Regions from separate parts of the Homo sapiens genome. Here region 1 is linked to region 2. Evidence: promoter capture Hi-C in 16 types of primary human blood cells and fetal thymus (Javierre and others, 2016). All regions are on one chromosome and are shown on one strand. The core of a region is centred on a gene start or on the middle of the fragment in contact, and the rest is flanking DNA. Distances in the headings are between cores, read along the strand shown.

Region 1 (5,171 bases), core at 171-2,670, 69 kb before region 2:
CTTCTATCAGGATTAGCTTCAGCTTCAAGTGACAAAAGTCACTTGAAATATGAGTTGCTGAAACAAGATGGCAGTCTCTCCCCTCAACAGGACTGTTACAACACCTTATCTTCAGAGAACCAGGCTCTCTGCAACATTTCAGGGACGTCGTTCAGTACCTTATGTGGAATTCAAGCTTAGCTGGGCATCCTATGTTTTAACTGGCTAACTCGTGGAACTCTCAACTTGGATCAAGTGGTAGTGGAGTCCCAGGGACTCTGAGCAGCCAGTGTGTGATACTGCAGGGCAGCACACCCTGGGGAGGCCAACTGTACAGAATAAAATTAATGCTTTCTATCTTTAGCAACTAAAGTTCTGAAATATAAAAAGGACCTCACAGCTTAACCCATGTTATACGGTGGGGTTTTCCCATGAACATCACGCGTTTCCAGCTGGGCACTCCTGCAGCATGGCTAAGATGACAACTCAAGTTCCCTGGGAGTGGGGGTTCCTGGGATGTGAACCTTTCGGTGCAAAAACTGGAGAAGTTCCAGTTGGGACCCCAGGCATAGATACTAGGATAAATAGGGCCTCTCTCCTCCAGGAGCATCAATTTAACCCAAAGATTCTTGGAGTCAGTTTCACATAAGTAATCTTGTTGAAAATAGTAATCCCAACAGATCTATTTTTCCAAATGCACCATTTGCATAAATCTCAGAAAAAAGACAACTTCAAGAACATACCTTTGCTGGGCACCATGGCTCATGCCTGTAATCCCAACTACTTGGCAGGCTGAGGCACGAGGATCACTTGAGGCCAGGAGTCTGAGATCAGCTTGGGCAACTGATTTATGGTTTGGATTTGTGTCCATGCCCTTCCTCTTCTGCCATGATTATAAGTTTCCTGAGGCCTCCCTAGCCATGCTTCCTGTACAGCCTACAGAACTATGAGTCAATTAAACCTCTTTTCTTTATAAATTACCCAGTCTCAGGTAGTTCTTTATAGTAATGTGAGGATGCACTAATACAGCAATATAGTGAGAGCTCCATCTCTACAAATCTTTTTTAGAAAGACAGGACATCCTGCTGGTTCTGCTGTGAGGTGTTGTGGGTGGAAGTTCAAGCAGCGCTGCCCTAATACATCCACATATGCTCCTGGCCATTATTCTTATCTAACCTACGGTGCCTGGGACACATCCCTTTCCTCATTGATTTTGGCAGCCGCTTCGCCCCAGGCTGCCTAGGGAATCTGGCAGATGTCCCCATCCTGTATTGTGCCTTAATCCGTGCACTCTTCCTGGTGCAAGTGAATCACGTGTTCCATCTCCACAGCTGCCCATCTTTCTTCACCTTGGGTTCATTCAACTGATGGGCTAAAACAGCTCATTTTCAACCTGGGTTTTGTTACACCACTGCACACTGGGAAATTCTTAAAGCCAAATCAATGTCAGTTCAGTTTCAAAGCAGATAGGTAAGTTGTCCATGGCAGAAGGAAAGCTGACTTACATTCAAACACCAGAAAACGAGAGATGTCCTAGACTAACACCCAAGCTCACCTGCCTCTAAAATCCACCCTTTCTTTACATACGAAACCCAGGAGAGGGAGGGTAACATGTCACAGTGATGCCAGCTCAGACAGCTGTCAGCCAGGAGGTCTCTGAGGAGAGGATGCATCCCTCAGCAGGAAGAAGGCTGGACTAGCATTGGTGATGTGCCAGGGGAGGGGAAATGAGCTGCCAGGCGAATACTAACCTTCCAGCGGCTAGCTTTTCAATCAAAGTTTCTCAGTGCAGTGGCTGCCTGGAATGGTCAATTCAAACACTGAATTGTACCAGTATGCCCCAACCTTCAAATGCAGTGTTTAGTAGAAGCCAAGAGACAGAATACCAAACTATATTTACTGTTTACAGTAGTAAAGGACAACAAATAATGTACAAATTGGTGAATAAACACAACAGAGCCAACAAACATCCCACCCGAGCCCATACAGCAAACAGGAAATGAGAACATTTCAGCAAGATTTCAAGCAAGCAAGAGATGATGGGTCATTGTTCAGGTGACTGTAAAAAGGCAGAGAATGGCCACCAAGCAGCAATGGAGCCTCAGGGAAGGACAATAGGCAGAACTATGAAAATGTTTAATTGGTATAGATCCCAAAATATTTCACAGAACTGAAATCACCAGACTAATGCATAAATTCAATACCTATTTGGAAAGCAGCACGGCACAAACCCACGAGAAGAACATGAAGTCATCATTCCATGGGTTCATTTGTAACCACACTTGGAAGTAGCTCTTATACACGACAACATAACTGCAAATTCAGCAATACTTAGTCTTACTTTTTTATGTATAGACCATAATCATTCATCAGAAGCAAATACTAGAAGAAATCTGAGGCCACAACACCATTACCAAATGAGAAATGTGGGAATTTCTTCAATATTAAGAGGGAGAAAAAGGCCAATTTTGGTTGTGCCAATCCTTGCCTGTGTACCAACGCCAGGTACTGAGCAGGGAGTGGGGTGGGAGGGGTGGCAGGGGGGTGGGTCCTGGGCCTCAGACCCCGAGGTTACATGCTTGAGGGCCAGAGAGCACGTGGGGTCAAATTACCAAAAGACTCGGTTATTTTTTAACCTTTGAAGAAGCATTCCAGTATTTTCCCTTCAACTTTTCCATATACTGACAAAGCTTAAATTTGCAATATTTAGCATTTTAATCACCTGTGCCTGTAACAGCAAGTGACAGTCTGTCCTCCCTACCAACCTTGCCCCCAATACCTGTCCAACAGCTGCATCCCCACTGCGGGAAACACCAATTCTCTATGTGACTGGAGTGAGCAGGGGAGAGGCAACCAACTCAGGAGTCAGATCCCTGGCCAGACTAAAAGCGAACATTCAGGCTATAATTTTGGGGTTAAAAAAATGTTGTAGGAGGGGGGGAAAACACAAATGAGCACACAAAAGTACCCACAATATCTTGCAACTCATTTTACCTGAACAAAGATAACAATTCTGATTGGCCCAATTTAAGTTACAGATTCATCCCTGCAGATATAGTTTTGAGTTGCACTTGAAGTACATCAAAGAGAGGAAAATCATCGTGGTGAATGTCCTCGAGTTTCCGCAGACACCTTTGTGGTCGGCATGGTCACGTGCTCACCATTCAACAGCAATGCGAGGATGGACGGCCCGGGCTGGGGACGGGCCCTCTAGAAACTGTGCCCTGCCAGGCTGCTCTCCGGCACACCTCCCGTCTGCTGCTGGAACACGTCGATGGTGTCCTCGTCCTCCATCTCCAGCTGTCATGGTTGTCACAACAGGCACAGCGAGAGAGAGGGGAGCCTGTTAGTTTTCATCAGAGAGTGGGAAGATCCTCACTGGCATGAGTGTTCCCTGACACTAGCGACATCACCTGGTCACACCTTGGCTCTTGTCCGTCCCCTCACTGCAGCTCAGCACGCATGGAAGAGGCATTGCTGTATGCTCACTACAGCCCTTACGGTTCAACAAGCTTCCCCTAACAAAACTCACAAAAGCAGATTCAAAGCTAAAATGTTAACTGAGAGAAAAACTGAGTCTAGAAGATAAACTGAAATGTCTAAAATTCTTACTGAAAATTACACAAAATCAGATTCTAATTAAGAACATCTGATTAGCAGCACTGAGTCCTAGGACCCACAGGAGCCTTGCGCTTTATACCAAGTGCGGGGGACCATGCCATGAAAGCCAAAGCCCCCAGCTCACAGAAGGGCCCGTCAAGTGAGGGTCCATTGCCAGCTTCTCCCCGCCCCTCCCCATTTAAAGCCCAGGCAAGGTAGTGAAACACCCCCGCTCACTTCTCTCCTCCTGACACAGTGGGCGCAAAACACCCACCCTGATCTTCTTCCATCCTCTAAGCAAGAGGAAGCTTCTGCCAGTTCCTACACAGACTCAGCAAGGCTGGAAGTAGTCATGCTCCCAGATGGAAAGGAGTCCCATCAGGGCTGTCGGCCACCCTCACCCTGCCACCGACACTATGGGCTGGAGGGAGAGCCCCCAGGCAGGGCTCCCTCTGCCTCTCGGTCCACCTGTCCACAGCCAGCCCCCTGACCCCCAGTCAAGCCCCAGAGACTCCACGAGGCCCTCCCTGCTCAGCTGCTCTCAGCAGCTTCTCCCTGGTGAACACTCCCAGAGCTGCCACTGCCTCAGCGGTGTGTAGGTTTCCTCAAGTAGGTACAAATGGATACTTGTTGCAAAGATGTTTTCAATATTTATTAAATACTGAATAGTAAATATTTAAAATCTTAAATGTTTTGCAAAAATATTTCCACATAAAACATTCCAGTGGATTCTCACAACATTGAAAGGGAGAAAAAGCAGGTATTGGTTCCATTTATGGACAGACAAAACTGAGACTCCACAAGATGAAGTGATGCTTGGTCACGGGGCCATCAGCTGACAAATGACAAGAGCTGCAACTTGAACCAAGTTTAAAAAAAAACTCTGTTTCGGCCGGGCGCGTTGGCTCATGCCTTTAATCCCAGCACTTTGGGGGGCTGAGGTGGGCAGATCACAAGGTCAGGAGATCGAGACCATCCTGGCTAACATGGTGAAACCCCGTCTCTACTAAAAATACAAAAAAATTAGCCGGGAGTGGTGGTGGGCACCTATAGTCCCAGCTACTTGGGAGGCTGAGGCAGGAGAATGGCGTGAACTCAGGAGGCAGAGCTTGCACAGTGAGCTGAGACTGCGCCACTGCATTCTAGCCTGGGCAACAAAGCGAGACTCCGTCTCAAAAAAAAAAGTCTGTTTCCAGGTCCAAAGCTCTTTCCATGACAGTATGATGCCCTGCAACGTGATAGATGAAATCTCATTCATGTCTGCATGTGCCTGAGAGAAACGAGCTGTGCAGACTGATAATCAGGGGTTATGGCACATTCTGCCCACCCACGTCACTTGTGCAAGATGCTTAAAGGGCACAAGAATCCAGCTGGCCCCTAAGCTGCACACGGGCTACAACAGCAAGCGTCCAGACAATGAGTGGGAAGGGGCCGCTGAGTGGTCCTTGCACCCCCGCTTCCCTTACAGTGAGGACGGGCCCAGCACTTGGCTCCATCTCCAAACAGCAAGAATGATGTCTGCAAAGCAGTTTTCTCATTTGAAAATTTAAATTTAAAATGTGAAAAATAAATAATCTAATAATCAATATCAT
Region 2 (5,282 bases), core at 92-2,591:
CATAAGGTCACAAAAAGAAAAGGTGCTCTACTATGCTAAACAGACACTGACAGAGCCTGGGCTAACAAGAGCTGAGAAAAGTATTAGCCCCTCAAGCTGGGCCCAGGTCAACCCTAATTGTAAGGGTCAGGAAACTGAAGTTAAGGTGGCACTATTCCCCACCACTAGTGGTCACCTGGAAACTCCACACACGGAAGCCAGCATGACATTGTGAAACAGGTCCAACCATGACACTCTCCAGCTTAGAACCTGCTGGATTTTCCCGCAGCCCACCAGGCCCTGGAGGCCCAGCCCCACAGGAAGCCACCCTCTATAAACACTGCCGGTTTCTGGAACTCTGAGTCTCCTGTCATGCACTTTCCTCCCCCAGCCCCCGCGCCCTCACTGCTTCTTTCTTGGTCAGCCTCCCGGGGACTCAGCTCCTCTTGGATAGGAGCTCTGGCTGTCGGTCACCACTGTGGCCGCAGGGCCTGGTGCAGACGGGATAAACGATGAAGAATGCCACCTGCGCGTCTGGACAGCGTAGAACCGCAATCAGCTTGCTTCAAAATCAGATGCTACAGCCTGGCTTTGGGGACGCCTTCCTTTCTAAGGCATAAGTGCGAGCGTTCGCTGCTGTGCGTGGAACTGCGGCCGGGAGGGAGTGGCGGCGTGAACGCCGGCGGCTGTAGAGACACACCGGCCGCGGCCCCATCACCCTGCAGGGGCCTGCGGCCGCCATCCCGGCCTGCCCCCGACCAGCTGTGCGACCTCGAACACGTCGTGAGCCGGCTTCCCGGCTCGGGATCGAACCCGAGGAGTGCTGTTTGGGGTCGCAGTGAGGCTAAGGGAGGCCGCAGGTGCCAAGCGTCCCGCCTGCCGGGCGAGGGCCAACCCGAGGCCACGCGCGAGGAGCGGCCGCAGCGACTGGACAAAACAAAGACAAAGACAAAGACGGCTCTTCCCCTGCCCGCGCCCCAGCCGCGACGGCAGCTCCCGCGGCCGCCAAACGGGCGTGACCCTCGAGGAGCCTCCGTCGGGGCGCTGCCTGCGACCGTGGGCCCAGGCCGCCCGCCGAGCCCAGCGCCCTGGCCGAAACCCCGACCCCGACCCCGACCTGGACCCACCAGCCGCCCCGCCCCCTTCGCGGCCCCGCCCGCCCCGGCGCCCTCACCAGCTCCGGGAGGCTCCTGCGCGGCGGCCACCGGGATGAGCAGCAGGAGCAGCGCGGCGCCACCGAGGCGCAACCTCCAGTACGGCGTCGGCCCGCGGGCCACTCCGGGCGCCATGGTCGGCCGGTCGCTCTATCAGTCAGTGGAGCGTTACAACTCCGACTCCAGCACAAGCGGTCTCCGCCCGGAACAGCCGCGGCGCCGGAAGTGGACCTGCGAGGTGGGGCCATGCGAGTGCGCAGCCTCAAAAAGCAGCTCGCCCCGCTCCCTCGCCATCTGCCCCGCCCCTCGCCAACGGGCTCGCCTCCCGGCGCGGCTGAGGTTCAGTGCGCCTGCGCGATAGAGGAAAGGAGCCTGGTAGCGAGGAGAGCGGCTGAGGCTCAGTGCGCCTGCGCGGCGCGGATGGGCGAGGCGTGACCGAGGGGCGAGGCGTGACCGAGGGGCGAGGCGTGACCGAGGGGCGAGGCGTGACCGAGGGGCGAGGCGTGACCGAGGGGCGAGGCGTGACCGAGGGGCTCGCCGCGGCTCCTGCGCCTGCGCGGCGGGGAACGGCGACCGGCTGAGGGGACTAGGGGAGCGCGGTGCTTCGGTGGCGGAGGTCACGGTGGCCTCCATCCTAAAGGGCTGCGGGCGTCCCGGACGGCGGTCCCAAGCGCTGCTCACGCTGCTCTTAAGTGAGCCCTGGACGAGGCGCGGTGGGCCCTCATAGTCCGCGCCGGCGCCCTCGCTCCACACCGCGGCGTCCGGCCCTGGGCTCCCGCCGATGTCCGCGTGGGACTTTTAGGGGATTTGTTTATTTTTGTACGTTAACCACACTAGAAACGGCCCCAGAATGGGCTGAAACGTGTGCTGCTGAAGCTGCCACCTAAACTCCCGAGAGAAGCGCCGTTTCTCCTCCATGGCTTCTCGCCGACGCCCTCGCTGCGGCCTTCCGGGCCCCTCGGTTGATAAAAGGACTAAATAGTGACGGACATTTTTAAGGCTACTTAAGAAATGGCAAAAATACATTTAGAGGTGTGAACCCGAACACACTGCGCGCTTTAAGCCCCGCGAGAGCCGGGGCCGCCCGCTTCTGTGCGCCCGTAGCTCCTTTCTCGGGTCCGGGATTCGCCGGTGCCGGGGACAGAAACCTCCTGCCTTCTTAGTTCATGACCCTTGTAGATGAACTTCCCTGTTTTCTGCACTGCTTAGACCAGAAGACGGGAAACCGTGACTGCCGCACCCTTCCCTGAAGCAGGCACTGCCCGTCGTCCATCAAACGCGAGGACTGCGCCCACCTCGTAGGAAGGACGCCGCGGTCCTGCTAAAAGCCTCCGCCTCTGCCTGCCCGAGGGCACCCTTCCCCTCCCCGCTTCCGAGGGCGGACTCCATTCCTCTGGAGCCGGTGTTTCCGGGTGGGCCAGCCTCCAACTGCCTTTGAATAACCCCCCCTTACATTAGATTCTGACCCTGTGGTGATTTTAGGTTGGGATTTGGGCGCCTGCAGATGGCTCCGAAGCCAGCCTCTTGTGATCCGAGCCACTTCTCTGGCACTCGGAGCGCTGGCACCCGCGGAGCGGCCTTGGTTCACCGGACCGCCTGGGAACCTGGCCGGGGTCTCTGGCAGCCTCCCAGGGCTGAGGTTCAGACTCTGTTCCGCCTACCCAGGTCCACACCTGATAGGGCTGGAGTTGAGGCTTGGTTTTAAGGCAAGAGTTTCGTTTGTTATTTCTCCAAAGAGTCAGCTGTTTGCAGGTGTGTGGTTAACACTATCCTTCGAGGTTAAGGTTTTGTTCGTCTTGCTAAAGTTTGCAACCTTTTTTGTCCTTCAGATTTGGAGAAGGGGAAAGCAGTTTCTCTTTGAAAAGAAGCAGCGAATCGTGGCTTAAGCAAAATTTGTAATCCTTAAAACTGGCCAGGCTCTGGAGCTGAGTTCAATTTGACATGTCTAAACTTTCTTCTTGAGTAACCAGATTTTCCCTTACAGTCTTTTGTCACTTAAGAGAACTCATAGGCAATCGTCCATCCAAAACAAGTCTTTCTCCTTCAGGGAGGACCCATCTTTGGAAACTCCAGCTGGTTTCCTGTGCAGTGCTTATGGTGCCACCTCTCGTTATATTTAGAAAAATGGTCTCACGTAACTTGAGAAAAAACATTTCAGTGACCAAAGCCGGGTACCATTGGAACACCAAGGTAATTTACTTGTTTGCTCAATTGGAAAACGCTGGCTCTAGGATAAAACGGAATCTTTGGGAGAGTTATTTTTTATGGTAGTTGGAAGCATCCAAAAGAAGTTCTAATAAAGGTATTTATGAGAGAAAAACAAAAATTATCTAAAATAATTTCTGAATTTAAAAAAGACTACTGAAATTTCTCCCCCTCCTCCCTCAGCTCCTTCTCTTTATCCTTTGTTGTCTGAATTACCTCGCCCAGACCCACCTTTCTTCCTCCTCCTCCTCCTGTTTTGGGGCCATTGCTCAAACAGCCAGTGTCTCTCATAGGGGACAACTATGTGCCCTAGTTCATGAGTTATGGTCAAAGGTAGAACTTAAAAGTATAATCAAGGAATTTCCTGATGCTCACCAGGACCCCACTGGTTTTCCCAGAGAATTTAAATACCCGAGTGTGTGACCCTGCCTCTACTTTGGGAAAAATAATTTTTTTTTTTTTGAGACGGAGTCTCGCTCTGTTGCGCAGGCTGGAGTGCAATGGCTCAATCTTGGCTCACTGCAACCTCCGCCTCCCAGGTTCAAGCGACTCCTCTGCCTCAGCCTCCCGAGCAGCTGAGACCACAGGCACGCACCACCACGCCCGGCTAATTTTTGTATTTTTAGTAGAAATGGGGTTTCACCATATTGGCCAGGTTGGTCTTGAACTCCTGACCTTGTGATCCACCTGCCTCAGCCTCCCAAAGTGCTGGGATTACAGGCGTGAGCCACCACGCCTGGCCATAAAAATTATTTAAAATAGTTAACACGAGTTCCCATTGCTGACATAAGCTTTTGCTGATAGAGCAGCCGTGTTTTCTGTAATAAATCCCATCTTGTTACAAGGTTCCATTCCTTGGAGTCAAAAAAAAGTTCAAAGGGTAGGTGTCACTAATACGCCTGTAACGGCACGTAAATCTCAGCCTATAGCTTTTCAACTAGGTCCTTTACAAGGGACTCACATTTTCCTTCTGGTTCTATCAGCTGCCAGCCATCTTATAAAAGGAGACTTCTTAGAATTACAATATCCACGTTTCTTTCTCCCAAAGGGGGAAGACGTATTTAGAATTAGATGAGAAAGCTGAGTTACTAGACATAAAAAAAGTTTCAAAATCTAACCCAATTGCGATCCCTAATTGCCCTAGAAGACACTGAATTATTGAATAATGAAGAATTACAAAACCTACTAAAGGCAGTACTTGATCAAATATGGTCAGAGTCTTCCACTGATACTGGAAGAATCCTCTTGGCTACCCCGATCAAAGTCCTTTAGTGTAGTGGACTTATTAGCACATCCTTCAGTAGTTCTGTGTGTGAAAGTGTTGATTTCTCTTTACCTTTACTTGGGAAGGCAGACAATACACACAGACAGCCATGCTCAGGGCTACACTGAGAGTCCAACTGATGCAAAGACAGTTGTCTTACATACTGACTTGTTCTTTTTTTTTTTTTTTTGACGGAGTTTCGCTCTTGTTGTCCAGGCTGGAGTGCAATGGCGCTACCTCGGCTCACTGCAACCTCTGCCTCCCGGGTTCAAGCAATTCTCCCACCTCAGTCTCCCGAGTAGCTGAGATTACAGGCATGCGCCACCATGCCTGGCTAATTTCGTATTTTTAGTAGAGATGGAGTTTCTCCATGTTGGTCAGGCTGGTCTCAAACTCTGAACCCCAGGTGATCCGCCCACTGCAACCTCCCAGAGTGTTGGAATTACAGGCGCGAGGCACTGGGCCCAGTCTTTTGACTTGTTCTTAAAAAAAATTTTTTATTACAATACATGGGCAGTTTACTCCTTTGCTCAGAAGATAAGCAAAGCTTTTATAGAAGATGGGATACATTCATTACAACAGCCCTAAAGGGACATAAAATTCCTAAAGAAAAACCTCAATTTTATAAAAAACAAAGTACTTGGGCCACTTAATATCTAAAGAAAGACTTTCTACTAATC

Evidence for each region. Contacts are between HindIII fragments. The CHiCAGO score rates a contact against its expected background, and 5 or more counts as called.
Region 1: a contact is called between a fragment that was not itself captured here and the fragment with the promoter of PTTG1IP in region 2, in 1 of 17 cell types (naive CD4 T cells). The highest score is 5.0, in naive CD4 T cells.

Annotation. Positions count from the first base shown.
Region 1 is chr21:44,803,762-44,808,932 of GRCh38, forward strand. SUMO3 (small ubiquitin like modifier 3) reads right to left here. Exons shown (of 4, transcript NM_006936.3): 4 at 1,856-3,279. The coding sequence ends at 3,190. It overlaps LINC01424 (long intergenic non-protein coding RNA 1424), which reads left to right. Exons shown (of 2, transcript NR_109928.1): 2 at 1-956. Among named protein-coding and RNA genes, the nearest start is that of LINC01424, 4.1 kb to the left of the region's middle. RefSeq lists a silencer at 3,407-3,560. The HindIII fragment of the contact is 2,494 bases long and covers 174-2,667 here.
Region 2 is chr21:44,872,349-44,877,630 of GRCh38, forward strand. It overlaps PTTG1IP (PTTG1 interacting protein), which reads right to left and starts at 1,342. Exons shown (of 6, transcript NM_004339.4): 1 at 1,154-1,342. The coding sequence starts at 1,268. RefSeq lists enhancers at 463-963, 964-1,464, 1,622-2,299 and a silencer at 1,056-1,705. The HindIII fragment of the contact is 6,566 bases long and covers 1-4,127 here.